Linked DNA regions of Homo sapiens: region 2 is linked to region 1. The links are contacts of gene promoters, found by promoter capture Hi-C in human tissues and cell types (Jung and others, 2019). All regions are on one chromosome and are shown on one strand. The core of a region is centred on a gene start or on the middle of the fragment in contact, and the rest is flanking DNA. Distances in the headings are between cores, read along the strand shown.

The links. Contacts are between HindIII fragments. The study calls those that stand out against the background at their distance.
Region 2: a fragment that was not itself captured here is called in contact with the fragment with the promoter of KIF26A in region 1 in 3 of the 25 tissues and cell types used here (dorsolateral prefrontal cortex, mesendoderm cells and pancreas).

Annotation. Positions count from the first base shown.
Region 1 is chr14:104,133,668-104,141,518 of GRCh38, forward strand. KIF26A (kinesin family member 26A) reads left to right here and starts at 4,920. Exons shown (of 15, transcript NM_015656.2): 1 at 4,920-5,097; 2 at 5,376-5,621. The coding sequence starts at 5,056. It overlaps KIF26A-DT (KIF26A divergent transcript), which reads right to left and starts at 4,962. Exons shown (of 3, transcript NR_158217.1): 1 at 3,863-4,962; 2 at 3,200-3,575; 3 at 1,116-1,505. RefSeq lists enhancers at 831-1,330, 1,939-2,512, 2,799-3,510, 3,511-4,222 and a silencer at 3,919-4,088. The HindIII fragment of the contact is 16,750 bases long and covers 1-7,851 here.
Region 2 is chr14:104,236,547-104,244,397 of GRCh38, forward strand. All of the region lies in intron 1 of LINC02691 (long intergenic non-protein coding RNA 2691), which reads left to right. Among named protein-coding and RNA genes, the nearest start is that of LINC02691, 17 kb to the left of the region's middle. RefSeq lists enhancers at 1,092-1,593, 2,445-3,290, 3,291-4,135. The HindIII fragment of the contact is 5,247 bases long and covers 1-4,182 here.

The DNA.
Region 1 (7,851 bases), core at 3,670-6,169:
CGAGGGGCCTCGCTTTACTAGGAGGCCCTGCCCTGAGCCGGGGTCGGCCTCCCTTGTGGCTGCCTTCCTGAGGCACCCTCTCTCCTGCACCCCAGACATGGTCCTGGCCTCCAGGAGGGATAGGTGAGCAGGGAGCCCAGGGAGCTGGTCAATCCTGGGAACGTGTGGGGAGTGTCCCGAGGCCTCCTTGAGGAGAAGGGTTTTTTCCATCCCCCTCAACTCTTGGAGAGGATGAGGGTCTGTCTGATGCCAGGTGTGATCCTAGGGCCATGGGCCTTGTATAATTTTATTGTGGACAGTTTAGGCCCTGTAACCCTTCCTTATCTCTTTATTAAATGCTAAACAGGATGGTTAAAAACCCCACAAAAGTCAAAACCGTGCAGAGGGGTGTAAAATGGAAGTGAAACCTCTCCCGAACCCCACTCCTACTCTCTCTCCAGAGGCAACAATCGTTACCTGTTGCTTGTGTCTGTCCCAGGAAAGGTCCCCGCCTTCATAAGCATAAACCTTCTCTGCAAAGGCCAACGGGGCTGTGCCGCACACTGCGTGCCCGTCCCTGTCCCGGGTCCACCTGCCGTCCATCCACTGTCGCCAAGGATGAAGAGACGATTGGCCATTCCTACCCAGCCGGTTTCCACTACTAAAGACACCTCTGGCAAGTGTTCAGTTTCCGTGGGAGCGTGTCTGGGGTGCCTCCCAGCTCTTGCCCTGCACACTGAAGGGACGTGGATGGGGGTGGGGTGGGCTCTGGAGGGACTGGTCTGCCTCCGGGTACCGTCCACCTCGTCACACATGAAGACACGAAGGTGCGGAGAGGTGGGGGGCGGGGCTCTTGACCAGCACCAGCAGGCTGGGGAGAGATGGCGGTATGGAGGGCCCTGGGCTCCAAGCACCCAGGGAAGGAATCTGAGCACTCAAGCCCCATGTCCTCCTCCCTCCCTGAAACATTGCTGCGTGTGGTCTGAATGGAAGCCGAGTTCCGGCAATTAATCCCATCAGAGGGGCCCTGCTGAATGGTAGGAGGTTTTTTTCTGTTTTGCTCCCTTGGTCTAGATTTCCCTGGGGACAGCTCTGACCAGCCGCCGCGTGCCTGGTAAATTAAATGTTAAAAAAAATCCCCACAATGACTTTAATCAATCCACTGACATGGCGGGTGGCCTCCCAGAAGCCCTTGGTCCGCTGAAGGGAGCCCCCCCCTCCCCGCCCCAGGCTCAGGGTCTTGGATGAGACAGGATGGGGGAAGAGGACAGTCTTCCCCAGTCCCCTTCCTGTGGGGGAGGGAGGAGGGTGGGTGGTCCCCAGAGTGTCCTCCTGGAGAGGGACAGAGAGAAAGGGGGGACTCTGGCCCCCTTTATAACTTGCCCTGATCCCAGGCCAGGAGTGATGGTGGACGCAGGGAGGGGGCAGCTCTTCCCCGCCTCTCTCCTGACCAGAAGCCTGGGTGAGTACAGAGCAGGTGGTCACGATCGGCCATGTGGTCAGCAAATCCAGCGTTTATGGTGATTCTGTTGGAGACAAATGGCAGTGCTGGGCTCTGGGTTGGAGTCAGGTTGAGACAACGTCCTTCAGCCTCCACTGGGGGGAGTCAGGGGAAGGACCGGGGGAGCAGGACGGCCTTGCGGCGCCGCCGGAGCAGTGGGGTTGTGGGGCGTGGCCATGGTCCTTCCCAGGGGAGAGTAGAGGAGTGCAGGGGGCAGAGAGCACAGAAAGTCTAGCCCAGCCTTAGCACCCCAGCCAGGCCATAGGTGCGCGCTGGCGCCGCTGAAAACGTTCTCCTTCCCTCGCCTGTCCACCTTCCAGGTCCTGCTCAAGGCGCCTAATATCCCCTGGGCAGGGTCCCTGACACTTCCTTAACTCCCAAAGACCTTCCGCGTGGGCCTAGCGCATTTAGGCGAACCTCTCTGCCTGCTTGATCCTCTCCCTTCCTCCCTCAAGCCAGGCATCTCACCCACTTGCGCGCGAGGCTGGGGCAGCCCACAGGAGGAGCGCGGGACCCGGGCTTGAGTTTGCACCCAGGCAGAGCGCCCACCCCCGCCCCTAGCTTCGGACCCTGAAAGTAAAGTCGTCGTGCCCGGCAGCCAGCCCGAATCTTCCAGCCCTCAGGGAGTCGGGGTCGGGGCAGGGAAGGCCACGGGTGGCGGCACAATCGGGATCCTGGAGTGGAGGCGCAGACTGCGGGTCCCGCTGCGCACGCTCCGTGGTCCGGTTGGGGTGGGCCTTGGAGGTCCATAGGCCAAGGTTGAACGGGGGCTCTGGAGCGTGGGCGGGGTGGAGTGCACAGGTCACTGGGCTCTGAGCGTTTCCATGGGCCAGGACCCCAACGCGCCGTGTCCTCAGGACAGATTGGAGGGGGAAGGGGCTGCGATTATGCCCCAGTCGGAAGGGTTTTACAGCAGCCGCGCTGCCCTCTCCCTGCCGGATACCCGGCAGTAGACACCGACGTCTGGGGGCTAGCGAGGCAGGTGGGCGCGGACCGCGACCCGATTCTGGCTTCCAACCTCCGCCCAGTGGCGCGCGGGGCCGTCGCCCCACACCTCCAGTCCGCGTGGCTGGTGTCTGGCTCGCCGCCGGGGCGGAAGGGGCGCTGTCGGCGCAGGCGGGCGGGGCCGGAGCGCGGGGGCGCGCGGCGCGGAGCGAGCGCAGGGCTCGGGGGCGCGGGGCGCGGAGGACCGGGGGCTTGACGGGCGGCCCTGCGCGGTGCGGGGCGCGGCGGCGGCGGGCGCGCGGCCAGTGAACGCGCGGGCGGGGCGGCGGTGGCGGGAGGCACTAGGGGCCGCTCCCCGCGCTTCCCTCTTCCATGGCGCTGCCCCAGCCGCCCGAGCCGCCCCGCGGCGCGCCCCGCAAGGCTCCCAGCCTGCTGGAGATGGGGGCGCTCTGCCTGGACTCGGAGATCATCCTGGGCTTCACCAGCCACCTCCTGCGGCGACGAGGCAAGGTGAGGGCTGTCGGGAGGGGGGCGGGCGGCGTAGGCGCCGTCCCGTTACTTTGCCGCGCGGCTCGCGCGGCCGGGGGTGCTGCGCCGGGAAGGAGACGGCAGGTCCGGAGCCGCGTCCCGCAGCCCGGGCTGGGACTCGCTGCCGCACTTTCCCCCATTAGCGTTGTCCAAGTCTCCCTCTGCCTTCAAGGCTGTGTCCCAACCGGACCCACCCGGAGGCTGTGGCTAGGGCGGAGAGCGCAGCGCAGGGATTCTCGGGCTCACCTTGCGCCTTGCTAGGATGGGCGAAGTAGGGGGTCGGGGCCCCTGACTGATCGTGAGCCCCCGAGGTGACTCCAGCCTTGTGCACCCCGTGTTCTGCGGATATGGGATGTGAGCTTGTGCTTCCCGAAGCGCCGCGGCGGTAGAAGCGCTGAAGTTGCGGGTGTGGCTGGCCAGGGGCGCAGGACCGGTGCTCCCGACCGCTGCGTGCTTCTGTGTTGCGTGTGTGGGTGGGGGGACGGGATATAGAGAGTGTGTGTCCCGGAGCAGTGGAGCGGCGGGAGGCGGTGCTGTCTGCCGGCAGTGCGGGGTGGGGTTTGGGTGTTGTCCTCAGTACCCAGATCCAGATGTGGGCTGACGCCCGTTTTCATTCTCCAGGCTGCGAAGAGACGGGTAGGGGAAGCGCTTCCGGCCCCCCAGGCTGGGTGGAAAGCGACTGCAGGCTTACGGATCTCAGAAAGAGTGGAGAGCCCCTGCCACTTTATTCCATACCCCCTTGCGTTTTCGAACCCCTAAGGTCATCAACGACCCGGAAAGCCGGGAGGGGATCACCCACCCCACTTTCTGGGGAGTGCGTGCGTGGGCGGGGAGGCTTATCCAAGTAAAAGGGGGTGGGCAAAACGGAAAGGGTCACTTTGACGTACTGAGTCTCTGCGAAGGCCTCACCGTATGTGCCGGCAGCCGCGTGTCCTGGTCTCCGCCGGGTCACGACCTTCGGAGTTTCCGAGTGCGCCTCAGGCCTGGGACGCGCGGCGCTGTCTCCCCAGTCTCGGAGCCGTGTGCGCAGCGGCCGGCAGGGGGCACTCGCGTCACGGGGAGCCCGCCCGCCGCGCCCGCCTGGCTTGACCCGGGCTTTGGGGCTGACCCGGAGCCTGGCCCGGAGCTGCCTGCGGCCGCGGATGCCGGCGACATTTGGGGCCCGGCTAGGCACAGAGCAACTGGTCGCCAGGGAAGGGCGGGGGGGCGGCCTCCCAGCCGGAGACAAACAAGCAATTAATTCCGGAGCTGAGTTCCCATCTGCCAGGCCTGCTGACAACAGGTCCGGCGCACGCCCGCAGGACCTCCCGCTTCCCGGGCGGCACGGCGCGCACACCCACTTGCGGGCACACGCGCGGCTGTAAAGACACGTGCCGTTCGCAGACGCGCCGAGGCACAGATACGCCGGCGCGGTCGCTGCCCGGCTCGAGGCGCACACCGCGGCGACACTAACCCACGCGCGACAGTTAGACCTAAAGTGGCCCGCGACACGCAGAGTACGCTGGGCTTGCTGGAAAGGCGCCTGGGAGTCTCGGGGCCGGGGTCCCGCCCCTTCCTCGGCCCACCTCGCCGTGGGCCTTGGGCAAGAGCGTCCCCTCCGCAGCCTCAGTTTTCCCGCCTGTAGAGGGAGGGGCGTCGGCGCCTCCTGGGAGACGCGCAGCCCTGGTGTCCCGGGAGAGGGGCGGGAGGCGCATGCGCGCGCGCAACTAGATCCTCGCCGCCGCCCCCAGCGCCCCTCCCCGGGGCAGGGACTCACCTAACAGGTTGGGGTCCTTGGAGTGCGCGGGGCCGCGTGGGGAAGCGGGGACCCTACCCCCCCCACGCGCCGCCCAGCACTGGGCAAGGGCGGGGCACTCTCTGGGCTCCCGCCCCTCGCCGCCCGCCCCGGGAGCCCGAGCCCCGCCCTTCCCCGGCCCCGCCCTCGCCTCCCGAGCGCGCCCACCGGAGCCACCGCGCTCCTCGCGACACTCGCAGGCTCTGCGAACTTCCGAGCGGCTGGGCCGGGCCATGGGGGCGCCTCGGGGCCGGATCACGTAGCCGCGGCGCCCCCGGAGAGCCAGCGTGGCCGGGAGCGCCTGCCGGGCTCTTCCCGCGCCCCGGCCATGGTCGGCCGCGGCGTCCCTCTGTGCGCTGCGCAGCCCGCGGTACGCGCGGCCCGGCCTGGAGAGGGAGGCGGGCGGCGGGGGCCCGGGACGGCGAAGATACTCGCGGTGTGCGCTGGATCCCTGGGGGCCGGGCCTCCTGCTGAGGGTAGCGGACCCGCAGGCGGGACCTCCGGGGATGGAGGGAGTGGGTGAGCGCCAGGGTCGTGCCCAGGGCTCCTAACTTTGGCAAGAGCGTCACGCTGGGGCAGGGCGCGCAGGGGTCTGGATCCGACGGACGTCCCAGGCTCACTGTCCGCTTCCGCCCCCACACCCTGCAGGTGGCCGAGGGCGGCCCGGCCCGCGAGCCGCCGCCGCTGCTGGAGGTGTCCCCCCGAAAGAGGCTACCCGCCGGGCCCGACCAGGACCCATGCGGCAGCCGCCCTGCTCCCGAAGGCGCCGGGGCCGGCCCAGAGCAGGGCCACTCGGCCGGCGGAGGCGGCTGGTGCCGCCACTGCCACACGAAGCTGGTGGAGCTCAAGCGACAGGCGTGGAAGCTGGTCAGCGGGCCCGGGACCACCCTCCGGGTAAGTGACACTTCCTTAGGCCGACCCCTCCGAGCAGGGCCACGCCGAACTTGGGTAGAACTTGGGGCTTGGAGGGAAGCAGGGTTCCACTCCTTCCCTGCTGCTGTTTCCACAAAGAGTTATCAGCCAGGACTTCCCTTCTGCGGGCCTCAGTTTCCCGGTCTGTAACACCATGTGTGAGCTAGGGAGCTCAGCCCGAGGGGCCCTGCTGCCTCGGATGGGAGGGGCCTGGGCTGGCGTTCCTCCCCCAGCCCAGATGTCCCACAGCTGGAACGCAGGTTTGTGTGGGAGGAGGAGGGGAGAGAGCGGATGGCAGGGACTCCACCCAGGGCGGGACAGCTCCAGCCCTACCAGCAGGGAGAGGTTATTTGGTGCATTGTGGCCCTTGGGGCACCTGGGCCCCCAGCCAGGTGTCTGGAAATTACATACCTGGGGCCGGGGGGCCTGGCAGGTGAAAGGGTGGGCCACAGCAGCTGGGGGGTCCCTGCCTACTCCTCTCCCAGCCTCAAGGATAAGAACTGTTGTCCCATACCTCCTGGGATAGACTGAGGCAGTGGCCGCCCATGGGGAATTGAGTCGGGGCCCTCTGGGTTCCCCAGGCTCCAGCCCCAGGGGCAGGTGCTTGCAGGGGAGGGGTTCTCCTGGATTTCCAGCCAGTGGGCCTGCCGGCTTTGGAGGGAGCAGGGACCATTGTTCCAGGAACAATGCATGCTGGAAGTTTGCAAAGGCTGGGGGCGGGTGGGGGTCTCCAGAGGAAGCCCGCTGCCGGGCCTTCAGCCTTTATGAAAGAGTTCCTGGGAAGTCCGCATAATCCCCATTGAATCTAAATATAGTTCTCTAAGGGCTGTGGGGGTTGGAGTGAGCTGAGACCCTGACTGCCCTGTCTGGGGCAGGGCAGGGTGGGGCAGGGTACCAGTCTGGTTTCTGTCCTGGGCACCGTCTCCGGGCTCTCTGGAGTCTCGGCGAGGGATAGGATTGCTGTAGCCTCTCTCTGGCTCAGGCCAGGCGCCTGTGGGCCTGTCCTGGGGTGGGGCTGGACCCGCCCTGTCCTCTGCTCTGGACAGGCTGCAGCCTTGGCCATACTCTGTGCCCCAGTGGCCTGTATCTAGTTTAAAAGGTAGCAGGAGACCCTTGAGGGCCCCCTGGAGAGGGCCAGCCAGAGCTAAAGGCCCATCTTGCTGCCCCATTAGGGGAAACACGCCAGAGACAGGAGGGGCATTAAGATTGAGCTGGTCTCCTCATTCTTGGAGTGGGCTTGGACTGCTGATGCTGCCTGGCCCTGGGGCCATGGTCCTGGCATGGACTCGTGGAGGGGAGGGGGCTCCTGGTCACGGGCAGGCCAGGGGTCCTAGTGGAGAGGGCTGCAGGTGATACTAGTCCCTGGTGGATTCTAGGTTCCTCATCTAGGGGGGTGTCTTGGTCTCTTCTGGCAGACAGGTCTTCAGGGGAGCCCCAGACCACCCATCTCCAGCCTCCCCTGAGCTTGGCCTTTGACACTGGAAACTCCTCTTGAGTGCCAGCTGGGGGCTCCCCCTTCCCTAGCTGGCGCTGGCACTCAGCACACCGGGGTCCCGGGCTGGTCTCAGCCAGGGCTTTGTTCTGCTCTGGGCCCCCTTCTTCTGCTTTGTGGTCTCCTCTGTCACCTGGGGCCTGTTGTGAAGTGCTGTCCCACCTGCAGGGTGCTGTGCCCCCGGGAGAGAAGACCCCATCCTCCACTGTCTCTCCACAGGGCATGGGGGGCTGCACCTGCCATCCTGGGGCCTTACGGGTGTCATTGTCCTGTCCCCTGTGCGGGCCTGGGCTGTCCCCAGAGTCCCAGCAAAATTGCAGCCTGCAGCCCTGGCCTGGCCCGCTGGGCCCAGATGTGTGGACATGGCTGCTTCTGTGTTTGGGTTGGGAGGGAAATCTCTGGGGTGGCCAGGGAGACCCCAGTGTGCTCCCCGGAGTCTGGTGCACTGTCCAGTGGGCCCTGGCCTCTGCTCTGTAAGGCCAACGTGGCAAGGGGTATTTAGGGTTGGTGTTCTAGGATTTCCCCAGGGGCCCGTTTCGTATTTTTTAGGGGAGAGATGAGCTTCCTTGAGGATAGCTGTTTACAGGGAACTTCACAATCATCCATCTGTCTCATGCTTGGATCTTCAGAAGCCCAGAGAAGTGGAGAGACTTGCTGGGACCCGGCCTGGCTATTAGAGGCCCTCGCCTCCGGGCTTCCTGCCTGTCTCCGTTGTAGAGG
Region 2 (7,851 bases), core at 309-2,808, 100 kb after region 1:
TGAGGCACTGTTCTGAAGTGTAGGTTTTGTAATTATTCAGATACAACAAGGGCAATAGACCAGGGGATGACCGCCATTGAAATGGTTTGTTACTCACAGCTCCCAAGAGGAGGGGTCATGCCACACCATGCAGGGCCACACAGGGCAGCACCAGGAGTGGCCAAGGGGGAAGAAGGAGTGACGGAAAAGCACGGGAAGGTCCGGCCAGGCAAGCAGGCTGACGATTGGCTCATTTCAGTCATTTTGGTGGGCTCTGGGGTACAGGTGCTGTCTCTAGTGGTCTGGTACCTGCCCTGGGGTAATCAGGGTGGGACTTGTGGCCACCCTGCTGAGTGTGAAAGCCCATAGAGGAGGTGGCATGGGTGCAGGTTCTGGATTAGCTGGTTTGCGTATGGAAGTTGTGCCCCAGTGTTTACACTCTCTAGGAACTGACTAGGCCTGGGAGGTGGCGGAGAGCAGTTTCTCCAGGGTCAGCAGGGTCCTGGGTGTCAAAAAGATATGTTTAACACACTTATTTTTCATGTTCTAGAAATCTTCAATCTCTTTGTTCTTCAGATGACATAGAAATTTCTGTCTTTAAGCTTGCTGACTCTCCTATCTCCAATCTGTTGTTAAACCTATCCAGTGTTTTAAAAAAAATTCAGCTATTATATTTTTCAGCTCTGGAATTACCCTTTAAACCTGGGACGTATTTATAATTGCTGACATAAAGCAATTTTTCTGTTTCTTTGTTTGGCTAGTCATTTTTTATTGTAAATTAGACATTGTAAATGGTACCTTGTGGAAACTCTGGATTCTGTTATCTTCCTCTGAGAAGTGCTGATTTTTGTCCCAGTAGCCTGTGCAGATCTCGATTTTATGCTTTGTTGAAACAGGTCCTGGAGGCCCATGGCGTTTACCCAGCCTCTACCTTGGTGACGCAAAGTCCCCACACTCTGTCTCCCCTGTGGACCTGGGGGCTCAGTGTTGGCGTTTTGAGGATGTGTCTGGAGCAGGGCTCTGAGCATGGTTGTGTCTCAGCTGCCTGCTCCACCTGCCAAGCTCGCCTCCTGACTTGGGTTGGTCCTGAGCCCCACCACCTTCCAGTGCTGCTAACTGCTACGCTCTCTGTCCTGCCTTTGCCCTGGAGAAGGGCACTTGGTCCTGCCCTCTGAATGCAAGGCCCCACCAGGGACCGTGAACCCTACACTCCCCTCCGGACCCTCTCTCTGGAATCCTGCCCCCCACAGTCCTGTCCCCTCAGTGCCTGAGCTCTGGTTTCTGCCTCCTGGGCTCAGCTTGCTGCCACACCCTGCCTGGGCTCCACTCCTGCATGAGTGGTGGGGAAATTGTCCTGGGTGGAGGGCTGGGCCAACGTGGCGCTCATCTCACAGGCTTTCCTTTTCTCCAGGATCACAGTCACATGCTGCCTGCACCAACACCCGAAGACCATCACCTAGTATATTCCCCCAGCGCTGGGGTTGCTTATGGTGGGAGGAAATGCACGGGCGGCAGAGGGCAAGGGCGTGGTCATTCTGATAGACCACGGGTGCCGAGGTGGGCACAGGAGGAAGGGCGGGCAGGAGAGGAAGTGTAAAGTGTCACTGGCTCAATGAGGACACGCGGTCCTGGTCGGGAGGAAGGCTGGGGGCTGGAAGTTGCGGAGGGTGGGAGTGCGGAGCATGGCAGGGCAGCGGCCGTGGAGCGGATGCTGGAGGTGGGTTTGTGGGTGATGACAGCCCAGGCTGCAGCCTCAGGAGGAGAGGACGGTCACTGGGTCAGGGGGCAGATGGACTGGCCGTCCCATGATGCTCAGAGGCTGTGAGTACGTTGGCTGGCTGGGGTTGCCATAGCCAGTACCACAGACCGGTGGGGCAAAAGCAGAAATGAACTTTCTCACGATGTTGGAGGCCGGAACTCTGAGGCCCTGGAATTGCAGGGCTGGTTTCCTCTCTGGCCCCGTCCTGGGCTTACAGATGCCACCTCCTCCCTGTTCCTCCGGGTGGTGTGCCTATGTCCTAATCTACTATCAGGACACCCCTCGGATGCAAACAGGGCCACCCTCATGACCTCCCTTTAATGGAATCAGCTCTTTAAAGAGCCTATCCCCAAATACAGTCCCATTCTGAGGTCCTGGAGTTTAGGGCTCTGATATCTGAATTTTGGGAGGTGGATACCATCCTGTCCCTCCCAGCGAGTGGCCCAAAGCTGAAGCCATTGATGAGTGACTGACAAGCAGCAGCCATGGCGGAGGGACCAATCCTGAGCTGGAGTTGGGGCTGTGGGGGCCTGAAGGACTGTAGGGGTTCTGGGGAGAGCCAGATGTCAGCTGTAGCGAGAAGAGAAAGACTGCCAGACGTGCGGCTGAGGAGGAGCCAGGCTACGCCTGCCCTCAGGCCCCCGAGAGTGTGGAGGCCCCTGGCCATGCACCGGAGGAGCCTCTGATGGATGCTTCATAAGAGTGGTGCCCACACTGCAGCCACCTCCGCTGCCAGGGACCCCTCCGGTGAACACGTTGGCTCCTCCTCAGGGAAGGGGCAAGTTTCGTGGCTTGACCGGAGGGCCCTAGGTGAGCAGTGCCGCGTTGTCTTTGGAGGAGGTTTCTCCTTTGGCCTCGGTTTGTCCTCTGTGTCATGGGGGTGATTGTCCCTGAACTTTCTGGCTGCTCAGGGCTGGATTTAGGCTCTGGGGAGGCCATGGGGGTGTTTCTTGAAGACCGAAGCCATGCTCGAGGCTGTGACTCCTGCGAGACAGGGCCTGAGGGGAAGCCCCGGGGTGAGTGGGTCTGTTTGAGGCTGGCTGGGTGTATGGGCCACTGTCTCAATCCCTTTGGCTCAAGCTGGTGATCATGAAGTGACCTCCCATGCCTAACTTATTTTGGATGGGTCTGAAGGCCACAGCACAAGCATCAGGGTGCTGGAGGCACTGCCAGGAGGGGTGGGAGAACAAGGCTGCCCTGGGAGTCCTGGAGAGGGGCCCCAAACATGGGTGGAGGTGGCCTCTGGGCTGGCCCTGAAGGCTGCAGGGGTGGGGGTGTAGTTGGCCTATGCCCTGTGGGGGAGGGAGCTGGTGAGTCCTGGGCCAGGGCAGGGCAGGGGGCAGAGCTATGAGAAAGGACGGCAGAAGGGGTGTGAAGAGAAAGTGAGGGGCTCAGGTGCCAAGGCCTTGGAGGTGGTGGGGCTGGGGGCAGGCGCTGCAGTTCTCAGCATGAGACGGGGGGCAGCAAGGACCCCACCTGCGCTGGCAGGCCCTGCTGCCCCTCTAGCCAGGAGGAGAATGCTTTTTCATAGGGGGAGGAAGGAGAAAAATGACTTCGGGCTCCTGGCAACTTCAGCAATCAGCTCCTTGTCAAGCAAATAAAATGCTTTTGAATGTCCAGATTAATGATTGATCAGCACAACGCGAGCCTGTTGGAAGCTTCCAGTTGGCCCACGTGGGGGTCCCCGCTGCAGGCGCTGGTAAAGTGACACCCCGTTAGTCACTTCTCTGCGTGTGCTTGGGAGAAGCCCACACACACATGCTGGTGCCTGACGTGGGGTTATTTCTGTGCTGAGGAGGCAGGAAACGGCAGAGGAGGCAGCTTCCAGGGCAGGGAGCACTGGGGCGGCCTGGCCCAGGAGGGTGCTTCATGGCCATGGGACAAGGCCCACACCAGGCCCTGGTGACGCTGGGCGAGAGCCTCTGTGTGGGCGAGGAGGCTGGGGCTGGCCGGTCCACTCGCCCAGAAATGCCAGAGGTGCCCAATGCCATGCGGCCTGGGGGATGCTTGGACCCGGAGTGATGACAGTGGCTGGTCATTTGCACCTTGAATTAAGCAGAATAAATCAAATAAGAGAACAAAGCCGATTCTTGTTTTGATGCTTATTTTATTTTTGAATGCAACACCCATATAGAAAAGGACATGCATCATAAATGTACAACAGGATGTGTAACTTCAGAGCCCGCATCTGTGTGACTGCCATCCAGATCACCCGGTAGAGTTCCCCAGCCTCATTCCCCTCCCCCTGCACCCTTCCAGCAGAGCCCCTGCACCTGCGGTCACTCTTGCCTCCTCCTTATATGGGCAACACTTCTGTCCTAGCAACCCTAAACAAGCTGGTGTGGCTTTCCCCGTCGGGGCCAGGGTGGGGGTTTATGTAAATAGAATAAAGCTAGGTGATTGCTTTGTTCCTTGTTTCTTTCACCTGCTGTTTTGTCTGATGTGCAGCCAACCTTGATAACATTGCATCTTCCTGTATAGGGGTGTGAAATAATCTCAGTGTGTTGAGTTCTTGGTTTCTCTAGCTATAGTCCGTTGGCTTCCATGGCTCCACCATGTTCCATCATGCGAACATACAACAGGCTTCTCATCCATTCTGCTGTTGATGAACACTTGGGTGGTATCTGAATTGGCTGAGTGGCCCATGCTACTGTGAACACTCTCGCCCATGTGCCCACTTGTCCTAGGGTCCCTCCCCAGGAGTGGAATTGCCAGGTCATGAGATGTGCGCCTCTTCAACCCTTTTAGATAATGCCAATCTGTTATTGTTTCTAATTAATAGACTATTTTTTTAGTCTGGACGCGGTGGCTCACGCCTGTAATCTCAGCACTTTGAGACACCAAGCTGGGCAGATCACCTGGGGTCAGGAGTTCAAGACCAGCCTGGCCAACATGGCGAAACCCAATCTCTACTAAAAACAAAACAAAAATTAGCTGGGCATAGTGGCACATGCCTGTAATCCCAGCTACTTGGGAGGCTGAGGCAGGAGAATAGCTTGAACCTGGGAGGTGGAGGTTGCAGTGAGCCAAGATTGCGCCACTGCACTCCAGCCTGGGTGACAGAGTGAGACTCCATCTCAAAAAAAAAAAAAAAAAAAAAAGAAAAGAAAAAAAGACTATTTTTTGAGCAGTTATAGGTTTACAAAAAAAAAAAAAATTCTTCCTTGAGGGTATCCGGGCAGCTCTAGGCTCTTTATGCTACTATTCACATTATACAGTCAGTTTGTTAAGCTTCCCATAGACACAGAACCAAGTGCTGTTGGGGTTTTGGGTGGAATATTATTGAACCAAAGCAATTCAGGAAGAACTGGCATCTTCACAGGTTGTATCTTCCAATACAGGAGCATGTTTTATCTTGTTATTTGGTGTTCCTTATTTCTGTCAATACAATTTTTAGTCTCAGATAAATTTGTTAGATATATTCCTAGATGCCCAATATTCTTTGATGCTTTTAAATTACATTTTTTTACTTGTTTGTTGATGTAGAAATACAATTTGAATTTGTTTTTCCTGTTTTTGTTTGTTTGTTTGGTTGGTTTTGTCTCCTGTTGCATTTTGGACACTGTCTTTAGATTGGTTTTCTAGTTTATTCATCTTTCTTTAGCTGTATAAAATCTGCTGTTAAAACTTATGCATTGGCCGGGCATGGTGGCTCACACCTGTAATCCCAGCACTTTGGGAGGCTGAGGCGGGCGGATCATGAGGTCAGGAGATCAAGACCATCCTGGCCAACACGGTGAAACCCCGTCTCTACTAAAAAAAAAAAAAAAAAAAAAAAAAAAAAAAAATTAGCCGGGCGTGGTGGCGGGTGCCTGTAGTCCCAGCTACTCGGGAGGCTGAGGCAGGAGAATGGCGCGAACCCGGGAGGCGGAGCTTGCAGTGAGCTGAGATCGCGCCACTGCACTCCAGCTTGGGCGACAGAGCCAGACTCTGTCTCAAACAACAACAACAACAAAAAAAAAAACAACTTAGGCATTGAGTTCTAATTTTTGGTTAATTTTCAGTTTTAAATATTTTTATTTGGTTCTTTTCCAAATCTTCTCTGACATGTTTTATAGTTTTCAGTCTCCTGTGATATGTTTGAATTTTTGAATCTTTTAAACTTAGCAAGCATCGTTATTTGATGTGATCTGATCTTCTGCTTATAATTCCAAAACCTGAAGTCTTTGTGCATCTGTTTCTATTGTCTTTTGTTTTTGCTGGCTCTTGATTGTGAATTTAATTTCATTTTGTGTGTGGTTATCTTTGTGTGCTAGAGATTGTATTGAAAAATTGCTTGTAAGAATAATTTGAGCCTTAGGATGATAGTTCCTCTCCTTTCCTCTCCTCTCCTCTCCTCTCCTCTCCTGTCCCCTCCTCTCCTCTCCTCTCCTCTCCTCCCCTCTCCTCTTCTGTCCCCTCCCCTCCTCTCCTCTCCTCTCCCCTCCTCTCCTCTCCCCTCCCCTCCCCTCCCCTCTGCTCCCCTCCCCTCCCCTCCCCTCCCCTCTTCTTTTCTTTTCTTTTCTTGATGAGTTTCACTTTGTTGCCCAGGCTGGAGTGTAGTGGTGTGAGCTCAGCTAACTGTAACCTCCACCTCCCGGGTTCAAGCGATTCTCCTGCCTCAGCCTCCTGAGTAGCTGGGATTACAGGCATGTGCCACCATACCCGGCTAATTTTTGTATTTTTAGTAGAGGCAGAGTTTCACCATGTTGGCCAGGCTGGTCTCCAACTCCTGACCTCAAGTATACCAAAGTCCTGGGATTACAGGCATGAGCCACGGCACCTGGCCAATAGTACCTTTCTTTAAGGATGGTGTTGGTTTGCTTTTTGCAGGTGCCTAGTGGGGCACTACCTGTCTGGAAGTATTTTACACGAAGTTTAAGCCTTGAGATTTCCTGGAGCAGGACCTCTGAAGTCACCATCACAAATGGCAGGCCCACACAAGGACTGATTTACTTCTGACTCACCCATGGCCTTCAGGCTTAGAGTTGGGGCCTTGTCGGATTCCTCTCTCTTACCAACTCTGGGCTTTGACTCTGTTGTCCCTAATGCCATGCTGATAAATAATTAATAACTGGCTCTTCATAAAAAAAAACAGTTTTGATCTGTAGCACCTGCCAATTCCCATGGTGTAAACACTCCTGCCATGGCTGACTTCAAGTTACCAACACAACATCACTGAGTGTGGGATTGGAAAAAGATGCCCATGGCTGGCTCTTAAGAGTCCTCTGAGCCTTGCTGGTTCTCCCTCACCTGCCATTGAGGGGGCTGATGGGTGCAACAGTCATTCCTGAGGCTGCAAAGTTCTTTAAAGCAGAAGCAGCTGACTCTTGCTTATGTTTTGCAGTACTTGCTGGGCTCTCAACTCCTCCAAGGTTTTGGCCTGGTAGTGCATTCTTTGCTACCTGATTTGCTCTTTTCTGCTTTAAAGAAGATTGGAAAAAAATTTTTTTTTTGAGACAGGGTCTCACTCTGTCACCTAGGCTGATCGTGGCTCACTGCATCCTCCACCTCTCAGGCTCAAGGGATCCTCCTACCTCAGCCCCCCAAGTAGCTAAGACCACAGGTGTGCGCCACCACATTAGGCTAGGTTATTATTATTTTTTTTTTGTATTTTTGGTAGTAGAGACGGGGTTTCTCTATATTGTCCAGGCTGGTCCTGAGCTCCTGGCCACGAGTGAGCCACCCACCTTGACCTCCCAAAGTGCTGGGATTATAGGCATGGGCCACCATGCCTGGCCAATTGAAATATTTTAATCCAGCTTTTCTAGTTGTGTTCAGTGGAAGAGTTGGTCCTAGTCACTAATCTGCTACTTATGGACAGAGACATCTCCTATTTTCTGTTGTAAGGACAGGAAAAAGCAGAAAATATAGAAAAGGAAATAAAGAGCAACCATCTCTCAATAGTACTGCTGCCCAACAAGAACACTGCTGACATTTGGAAACTGTTTTCCAATTTGATTCTTATTGGAAAGCATAACAACCAGCCAGGGCCTGTGCTGCTGGAGCGGGCAGTTATGTGCAGGGAGACAGCTGGTTACGGCTGGCTCCTGGCCTCGACGGAGCTTCTCAGCCTCTTGGAGCCTCTGTCCCCTCAGCTGCTGAAGGAACACATCTCCTGCACTTCTCAAGTT